2 separate regions of the Homo sapiens genome follow, and region 1 is linked to region 2. Evidence: promoter capture Hi-C in 16 types of primary human blood cells and fetal thymus (Javierre and others, 2016). All regions are on one chromosome and are shown on one strand. Each heading gives the region's core, a stretch centred on a gene start or on the middle of the fragment in contact. The rest is flanking DNA. Distances are from core to core; before and after follow the strand shown.

Region 1 (4,476 bases), core at 469-2,968, 450 kb before region 2:
GCAAGACTGTCACTGTCCTGAGCAGAAAAGTGGCTTCAGGAACCCTGAGAGAGACCATGTGAGAAAGGGCACCTTTGGTAAAAACAATCGGGGAGGAGGGGCTTAGGGATTAAATACCCAGACCTCCCTCTCTCCTCTTGCCCTCAATCTCCTGCCAGGCCCTTCCACTGGCCAAGCCAAACAGGAAGACCAGGACAGAGAGCTGTCAGTGAAATCCACACAGGCCAGCCTCTGGGGCTGGAGCAGGATGGTAAAGTCTGGCAAGGAAGTCAGAGGAGCAAATGGAGGGGCGGATCCAAAGTGAATCAGCCCAAATCATCCACGTGGCCTGGCCGAGGCTGAGAGCCGTCCTACCCTGGATAAGCCCACCCTTTTCCAAAGGCTGATCCTGGACCGGGGTGGGAAGTAGCTCTGTCGTGGCATGGAGAAGAGTCGTACGGTTTGTTGAAAAGAGCCCCCACTTACTGGCTGTGAAAACACTGGCCAGGAGCCTAAACCTCCCATCCATGCATTATATATTCATTTATCCATTCATTCAGCCAACATCTCCTGAAAGTGACTCAGTGCCCAGCCAGTGCTAGGAGGCACTAGATGAAGAAACGAGGAGCTGCCCCAGCCACGGCAGCTTCAACGTGTGAGATCCACCTAGAGCCAGGCAGTGACGGGCTCCATCCACCGGCTCCCTGACTCTGGACCTTCACTGATGTAATTCCTGTAAGGCACATTCTTCTGAAGTACAGTTCCCAAGTCAGAGGGTCCTCAGGCCTCATTGGAAATGTCCAAATGTCTGGAGGCCGTCCTCTGTAAAAACACCTTTTCCTCCTAGAGTCTGCCTGAGGATGCAAAGACAGCATTTGTGAAAAGCAGGGGCCACGGGGCCCAGCGAGCAGTTAAGTGCTCCGCAACTGGAAATCGATGGCCTTGCTAACAAGCACCCAGCTGCCCCTCACACATAGTCACCACCCTTTTATCCCCTTTTGTTGCTTCCATGGCAATTACATTGCACGTATGCGCATTTGTTGCAGTTTTTCTCTCCCTCACTCCCCATGTCCCAGACTGAGGCTGGGGGAACCTGGTCACGGGTCTCTTGCTCCTCCTGAATCACCAGGGCTTGGGGTGGCTTTAGGAACGCCAGCACTCATACCATGGACTGCACTGCGGAATGGCTTCACATGCACTTAATCCCGGGCGCAGCACCGGCAGGCAGGCGGTACTACTGACACGTGCTACAACATGGATGAGCCTTGAGGACATTATGCCGAGTGAAATAAGCCAGACACAAAAAGACAAACATGGTGCTTGTACTACTAGGCTCATATTATAGACGAAGAGACCCAACCCAGAGAGGTTAAGCAACTTGCCGAGGGCACAGAGTGGAAAAGCGGCAAAGCCGGGATTCGAACCCGGGTGTCCGGCTCTCCAAACTGGCGGTGGATGGCGGCTGCCGGAGCGAGAGTGCTGGAATGAATCGATACGTCAATCAGTGAACGGGCGACGGGGTCAGTCCAGTCCCCTCCCCCGGCGCGGCGGCTCAGCACCGGGACAAAGGCCGGGCGGGGGCCGGACGTGGCCGGCGGGGTTCGCGCGCGGTGGGCGGGGGTCGGGGCCGGGCCCTTTAAGGGGGGCGGGCCGGCGGCGCGGGGGGCGGTGCGGGGGGCGGTGCGGGGGGCGGTGCGGGGGGCGGGCCGGGGGCGGGCGGCGGCGGCTGGGCCCGGCTGGAGTGCGCGCCGAGCGAAGGGCGGCGGCGGTGGCGGCGGCGGCTCGTGCTCGGCCCCGGCTGCGATTGCGCTCAGCTCCAGGTTCCCTGCCCGCGGCGGCGCGCCCCCAGCGCTCCCTGCACCCCGCGCCACCCGCACCCGCGCTCGGCCCGCTGCGGGCGGAGGAGCGGCCATGCCGCCGCGGCGCAGCATCGTGGAGGTGAAGGTGCTAGACGTGCAGAAGCGGCGGGTGCCCAACAAGCATTATGTGAGTGCGGCGCGGCCCCCACGCCCCCTTGAGCCCGCGCCCCGTCGGGGGCGACCGAGGGCCCCCGGCTTGGAAAACTTCTGCCTCCAGCGCTTCCCGTCCCCTCCTCCCCTGCTCTCCCCTCGGCTCTGCGGCGGCGCTGCCCGGGTCCCTCCCGACTCCTCCTCCCTCCCTCCCCTCCCCTCCCCGCTTTTGCCTCGTTCTCCCCCTCCATCCCTTCCTCCCGCCTCGCCCCCCTACTCGCCTCCCTGCGGCTCCTCTACCCCTTTCTGTCTTCTCCGTGTCCCCCCAACTCCCGTCCTGCTCATCTGTGGAAAAGTCTGGCTCCAGCCGGTGAGGGGTCTGAGACAGAAAGCGGGAGAGACAGAAGTGCCTGTTCTCAGGCCGCCCGCCTTGCCCCTCCTTGTCCAGAGGCGCGCAGACCCGCAGTCCCCAGCCACAGGTAGCCCCTCTAGGGTTCGCCGAATTTGACTCCGTTCTTTGGCAAGAGCCGGCCTGGGCGATGGAGGAGATCTCTGGGAATGGATCATTTGAGTGGCTACGCCTTTAAAGGGTTAAAAACATCCCCTGCCCCCTCTCTCCAGTAACTTCTGTTTTAAAATGTACGAAAGTTTTCTCCTGGCATCTCCCTCTGGAACATGGGAATCTTGTTTGGAGCTGGCAAGGACTTGAGAAAATGGGACAGTAGCGTCGTTTTGCAGATAGGAAGGCTGAGGCTCAGAGGTTGCAGGTCCTGGAACATAGAGCTGCATTCGGGCTTCCCTCCCTCCAGCAGGGGTGCCTGGGGCTGACGGTGACCTGCAGGTGGAAAGTGGCTTCCGCAGCAACCTAGGGGACACGTCTGCAGATTCAGGAGGCCCTGGGACCACCTCGCAGGTTCTAGGTGGAGATAAAGGGGATGTGGGGTGATGGGCCCACATGAGGCCTTGGGGAGGGCCTCATTACAGCAGGGAAGGGGGCTATAGTGTCTCTGGCGGTGAGAAGTGGGCAGTGGCGGAGCCTGGCTGCAGAGAAGTTAACCAGGAAGGGAAAAAGAGTAAGAGGGAGGGAAAAAATCCTAACAAAGAAGTATAGAACAATGAATAGAAAAGGGCGTTGGCTGGCTAAATTAAGCTCCTTGGCCTCCCTGGAAGTCGTCTTCAGATCTTTTTTTTTTAAGAACTAATTCTTACAAAGTAGATCTGCATGCCTTCCGTGAATAGCCTGTGAAATTCTGAAAGGAGATAGCCGGGAACCCACTCCGCGCTCTCCACAAGAAAGGGTGTGCTGTGTGAGTCTGTATTGTTATTGGCTGGGCAGCCAGTTATTCAGCCCTTAGCCAGGCGGTGGGAAGCTATTTCCTGGACCTGTGGCATCTTTATATAGAGTGAAGTTTCCCTTGATTCCAGAGCTGAGCTAAATTGTCTTTTTTTTTTCCTTCCTTTTTTTATTTTTTGTTAACTGTTTTCAAATGCTGCCAAATCTTAGTTTCTTGTTTGAGCCTGTTAGCGTGTAAGTGAGTTTGCCTCTTTGGCATGAAGACAGTTTTCACCAACATGGCAACTGGAGGAAGTCTGGAATTCTCCATGCCACCTCCCACCAGGTCTGTGAGCTGGCAAAAACGAGAATAGATACTGCCACCGAGGCCCGGCCATCATCGTCCACGCGCCCTCTTCTGGCCTCTCCTATCACGCCCATATCAGGCAGAGGGCCTTAAGCCCATTTGACAGATGAGGAAACCAGGGCTCAGCAAAGTGAGGTCCCACGCCTAAGGTCACAGTCAAGAGCCAAGCAGGGATGTAGATCCAGGCCCGCTGGACCCCAAAAGGACCACACCACTTCCCACATCCGGTACCCCTATAGTTTCTCTGAGCAAAGTCCTCTGAAAAACTGGGAAATCTCTCTTATCATTAGTGAAAACCTGGAAGCTTTTCATTCTCTGCTGTGTCAGCTCCATCCTTGCCAGTTTTTTGAAGGTTTTGCGCTTTGAGAACCGTCTTTTGAAGCTTTCAGCCACTTTTTGGGGGCCCCCTGAGACAAGTTTCTATGTTAAAACATAGATTGGGATTCAGATCTTGGCCTCCCAGGTTGTAGCTGTGTCACCTCAGCCTCAGTTTTTTCATCTGTGTAATGGGGATGGTGGTGTCCATTTCCTAGAGGTAGCAGCCGCATGACAGGCTGCCTTAGGGCATTCCTAAATGCCCTAAAGGCATAGCTCCCTGCCTGCCTGTCCTGAGGTATCTTGTCACTGATTGGGAACATGCCAAAGTCACATGGTAGGGGGATTCATCAAGAACTTGTTTTTCTGCATGTGGCTTTAGTCACTCATGTGATTCAAGAGGCCCTCTCCCTTCTAGCCCAGGCTTCTGGGTTCATCAGATGAGGAGGGGCAATGGGCTGAACTGAAGCCTGAGTCATCCACAGGAACAGAGAACATTTACTGCCTTGATGGCAGGGGGGCCAAACCCAATGGAAACAGATCCCTGTGGTGGGCGACCGCTGCTGTTCCCAAGCTCCACCCCAACCCCTCAC
Region 2 (4,030 bases), core at 598-3,097:
TTGAGAAAGTGAAAAGCAGCCTCTGATATCTGGAAGCTGGCCTGGTACAATCAGCCATGCCATGATGTTACTAGACCACAGCCTGGCCCTTATAGCTAGGCTTTGTGTTTTCCTGTAGAACAAAAACAATTCCAAAGAACATCAACATCAGACGAGGTCATTCTGTGACCATGATAGATCCAGACAAATACAAGACCACTCTATAATCAGGTCTAAACACGATAAAAAGATAAAACCTGATGATTGTCCAAACCACAAAAAATGACTCAACATCCCCACTTGGCTAATATGAGGGAGCTGCTGCTGCACTTTTTTTTTTTTTTTTCGTTTTTGAGACAAGGTCTGGCTCTATCACTCAGGGTACAGTGGAGTGGTGCGATCTCCATTCACTGAAACCTCCACTTCCTGGGCTCAAGCGATCGTCCCACCTCTGCCTCCCAAGTAACTGAGATGACAGGCGCGCACCACCAGGCCCGGTTCATTTTTGTATTTTTTGTAGAGAAGAGTTTCGCCATGTTGCCCAGGCTGGTCTGGAACTCCTGCGCTCAAGCAATTCGCCTGCCTCGGTTTACCAAAGTGCTGGGATTACAGGCGTGAGCCACTGCGCCCGGCCAGGCTGCTGTTTCTTTATCTGCACAGCTTTAGCCTCAATCTAGAATTCCCTTCCTCTAGATAAGATGAACTGAGATGCTCAATCATGGAACGACCCTCTCTTCCTGACAGTATCTAATCCAGTGAAGCTCTCACTTCCTTAAACCCTCTCCCAAATCACTAACAACTCTTACCGAGAGGCCCTATCGTTCCTCAATGTGTGTTCTCAGTCACTGCAACTAGTAATAAACCCAGCTTGTTCAACGATCCGTGTCTTCCTGGTGGGATTTGGTTAGAGGGCACGGACAGACCTAAGTTACACAGAGTTGGAGGCTGAGTTCACTAGAAGGAGTCTCCGCTTGTGTGTTCCTTCTTAGCCACTCTTTTGGTTAGTGTCTGTCGTCCCTCCACCAGAATTAAGCTCCATGAGAACAGGAGCCTTGTCTGTCATGTTCAGAGCTGATTCTCAGCGCCTAGAACGGTACGCAGCGGAAGCTGGATGCTTAAAAAATAACCATTTTCTGAACGAATGAATGAGGGGCTCGATATACGCACGTCCCCTTTAATCTCGCAGCTCCTCGCAGATCGTGTGACATACAGACAGCACCACAGCACATTTCCCAAAACCCCGTCTTTCCCGAAGAAATCTCGAAACTCTCACTCCTGGGATGCCCATCCTCTCAGAGCCTCTTCCCCAGGCCGAGCTTCTCTCACTCGCTGGCCCCTTCCCACACCTGAGCCCCAGGTCTATACACCTTCCTAACGCACCTAGAACCCACCTGTCTCCACCATCTGCCCCTACCATCAGACACTGCCGGACGGGCCGCGCAGCTACCTAGGCGTCTAGGGAGCACTGCGGCATGGACCGCGCATGTGCGGAAATGGGTCGCATACGCAGGACCTCCGACAAGTGAGGAGTTGCCTCGGAGTTTCCGTCCCGGTCTGGGCAGCCTTGGGCTGCCAGGAAGTCAAGAGAAGCTAGCCGGAAGGACAACCCGGGCGCACGGCTTTCTGGGACACGTAGTCGTGGCGCTCTCGAGGCCCTGCCATGAGCAAGCTCTTAACTCTTCAGGTCTGCACGTCCTACGCCCACCGTCCAGTGCTACTCTCAGCTCGGAGTTCAGCTTCGGGCTGCCAAGAGCCAGCAACCTGGTGTCAGAGGCTCGGTCCCACAACGCTCTGCGGGCCGCGGCGCCTGCTGGGAGGTGTAGTCCCCGATCTGCGTACTGCGTTCGCCGAGGGGGAGGGCGGAGCTGCCGGCGGCCCGGGCGGGCTGGCAGCTAGAGTGGGTGCGATAGCCGCCTCCGCCTCTGCCGCCTCCGCCGTCGCCTCCTCCGCCCGGGCCGTTCGCTGCTGCGCGGGGAGAGCGAGGCGGGGCCGCCGGGGCCGCCATGGAGCCCGACTCGGTGATTGAGGACAAGACCATCGAGCTCATGGTGAGTGCGGCCCGCTGGACCGTCTGTGCTTCCGTCCGTCCGGCCCCGGGCGGGCCTGCCCACCTCAACGTCCGGTGCGAGGCCGGCTCTGGCCCTTCCCAGACGCCTCGACCCAGACCCGGGCCCCCAGCCTTCCCTGGCCTCGGACCTGGCGCGGGCTCCTCTGATCCCTCGACATCTCCGGCCGGTCCTGGCCCGGCCCCCTCCATGCCCCTCGCTTCTCCCCCTCCCCCTGGTCCCGTCTCCGGTCCCAGCTCTCGGACGACCCTCGCTCGTTTATGCTGTAGACTTAGGTCGCACTCGCTCTAGCACCCCATTCTCCTTCTTTTAGAAAGGGATTTTTTTTTCTTTCCTCTGTTTCGGCCCAGGCCCGCACCGCGCTTGCAAGCCCCACTCAGGCCGAGTGAGATGGTGGGAAGGAGTACGGAGATGGGTTGGGGCCGCCTGGGCCTCCGCGTCCTAGGAGAGGTCTCAGCACCCACTCCCCAGCCTAGGTCTGTGTGGATGCCAGGATAGGCCCTACAGAGCTGGGGGGGCAGGGAGCTTTCGGGTTTGAGGCTGTGGCGGATAAGGAGGCCTCTTTCCCGGGCCCTTGTGGTGTCCGGCTTCTCGGACAAAGGGTTTCCTACCCGGCGGAGAGGGATGTTTGCATAGCAAGGGCCCAGGTACTCTGGATTCCATCCTCCAGGAAAGAGAAGGCGCAACTTCACGTTTTCCAGAGCTGCTTTGGGAAATTGGAGATGACTGGGGAGGGAGCCATCCTCATCACTGCCGCGAGGTCTTTCTTCTCAGAAAGAAAAAAAAAAGAGGGGAATCCTTGGCCCCCGGGGGAAGCGACCACTCTTCTGTTAGAAACCACTGGCAGCCAGGCCAGACTCCCGGTCCGTGGACACCCTCCACCCTCCTCCGAAGCTTTAGGATTTGAAACCAGAAGGGGTTTTTAGGAACAGGACAGTGAGAGAGTGGCTAGAAGTGAAGAATTTGCTAATTGATGGATGATTTGGTGGAAGAAATAAAATATGGCAGATATTACCTGCCAACGTGAACATGAGGGAAATCAAATTGGGCTCTGGAGAGCTGGGAAGAGGAAGTCTGCATCAGCAAATGGACATGTCCAGGATTTCTTCCTATGGAAGCCTTGACAGTTTCTTTGTATCTTTCCTAACACGGTAACAACTTCTTCCCCAGGGTTGAGAGGAGAGGTGGAAGAATCTACTTAACCCAGCAAAATGTTTTCCTAGCCAGATTTTCTTCAGTGTGAAAATGTTTATTGAGTCAGTGATTCCACTGGGTAGGGTTGGTGACATCAGAGCCACTTCCCCCATTTAACGCTATAAATAATAAATGGTGACACTGAAAGTCTGTTGGATAGCTGCATGGTTTCTGTGGATGATGGTGTCTGGGGAGTTGAGATGCTTGTTTTAAAAATGGAAGTACAGTAGCATAAATATGGAGGCAGCTTAATGTTTGCTGTCCTTTGCATAATTCACAGAACTGGACTTCTCTAGCATTCTTGAAAACTAGGAGGGAAAAAAAGAAACTGATAGTTTTTGATTTTTGCATGCGTGTGTGTGTGTGTGTGTGTGTGTGCACGTGGGGTTGTTTTCAAAGGGATGTCACATACTGAGTGATTTTTCCTTTTCAGCATAATTTATCATACTTGTAGTCAAGTGTTTGGTATTCTGTAACTTTTGTAGTGGGTTATTTTGGTAACTATCTTAAATCGACTAAGTATATTACATATTCTTAAGAATGTACACACAGTGCATGTACTTACAACAGAAGTACTTCATATCGAAAAATTGTAACTTGGTGCCTCTTTGAAATTGGCTGTTCCCAGCTCCTTCCATTTCTATTCCTTTAAAAAATAACGAAAATGTATTTATTTTCAAAAGAATTATAAGAAATACGTTGTAACCCAAGTCAGTGTATGGTTACAAAATAAAAAAATAAAAACCTTTGGCCTAAATTCACTGGCTTCCTATGCTTATAACTTAAAAAGT

What was found. Contacts are between HindIII fragments. The CHiCAGO score rates a contact against its expected background, and 5 or more counts as called.
Region 1: a contact is called between the fragment with the promoter of SH3PXD2B here and the fragment with the promoter of FBXW11 in region 2, in 1 of 17 cell types (erythroblasts). The highest score is 5.0, in erythroblasts.

Annotation. Positions count from the first base shown.
Region 1 is chr5:172,451,767-172,456,242 of GRCh38, reverse strand. SH3PXD2B (SH3 and PX domains 2B) reads left to right here and starts at 1,718. Exons shown (of 13, transcript NM_001017995.3): 1 at 1,718-1,965. The coding sequence starts at 1,891. RefSeq lists an enhancer at 2,231-2,752. The HindIII fragment of the contact is 9,231 bases long and covers 1-3,874 here.
Region 2 is chr5:172,004,455-172,008,484 of GRCh38, reverse strand. It overlaps FBXW11 (F-box and WD repeat domain containing 11), which reads left to right and starts at 1,847. Exons shown (of 14, transcript NM_001378974.1): 1 at 1,847-2,027. The coding sequence starts at 1,983. RefSeq lists enhancers at 1-80, 1,523-1,792, 1,336-1,963, 2,563-2,682 and silencers at 1,823-2,102, 2,113-2,222. The HindIII fragment of the contact is 14,963 bases long and covers 1-2,941 here.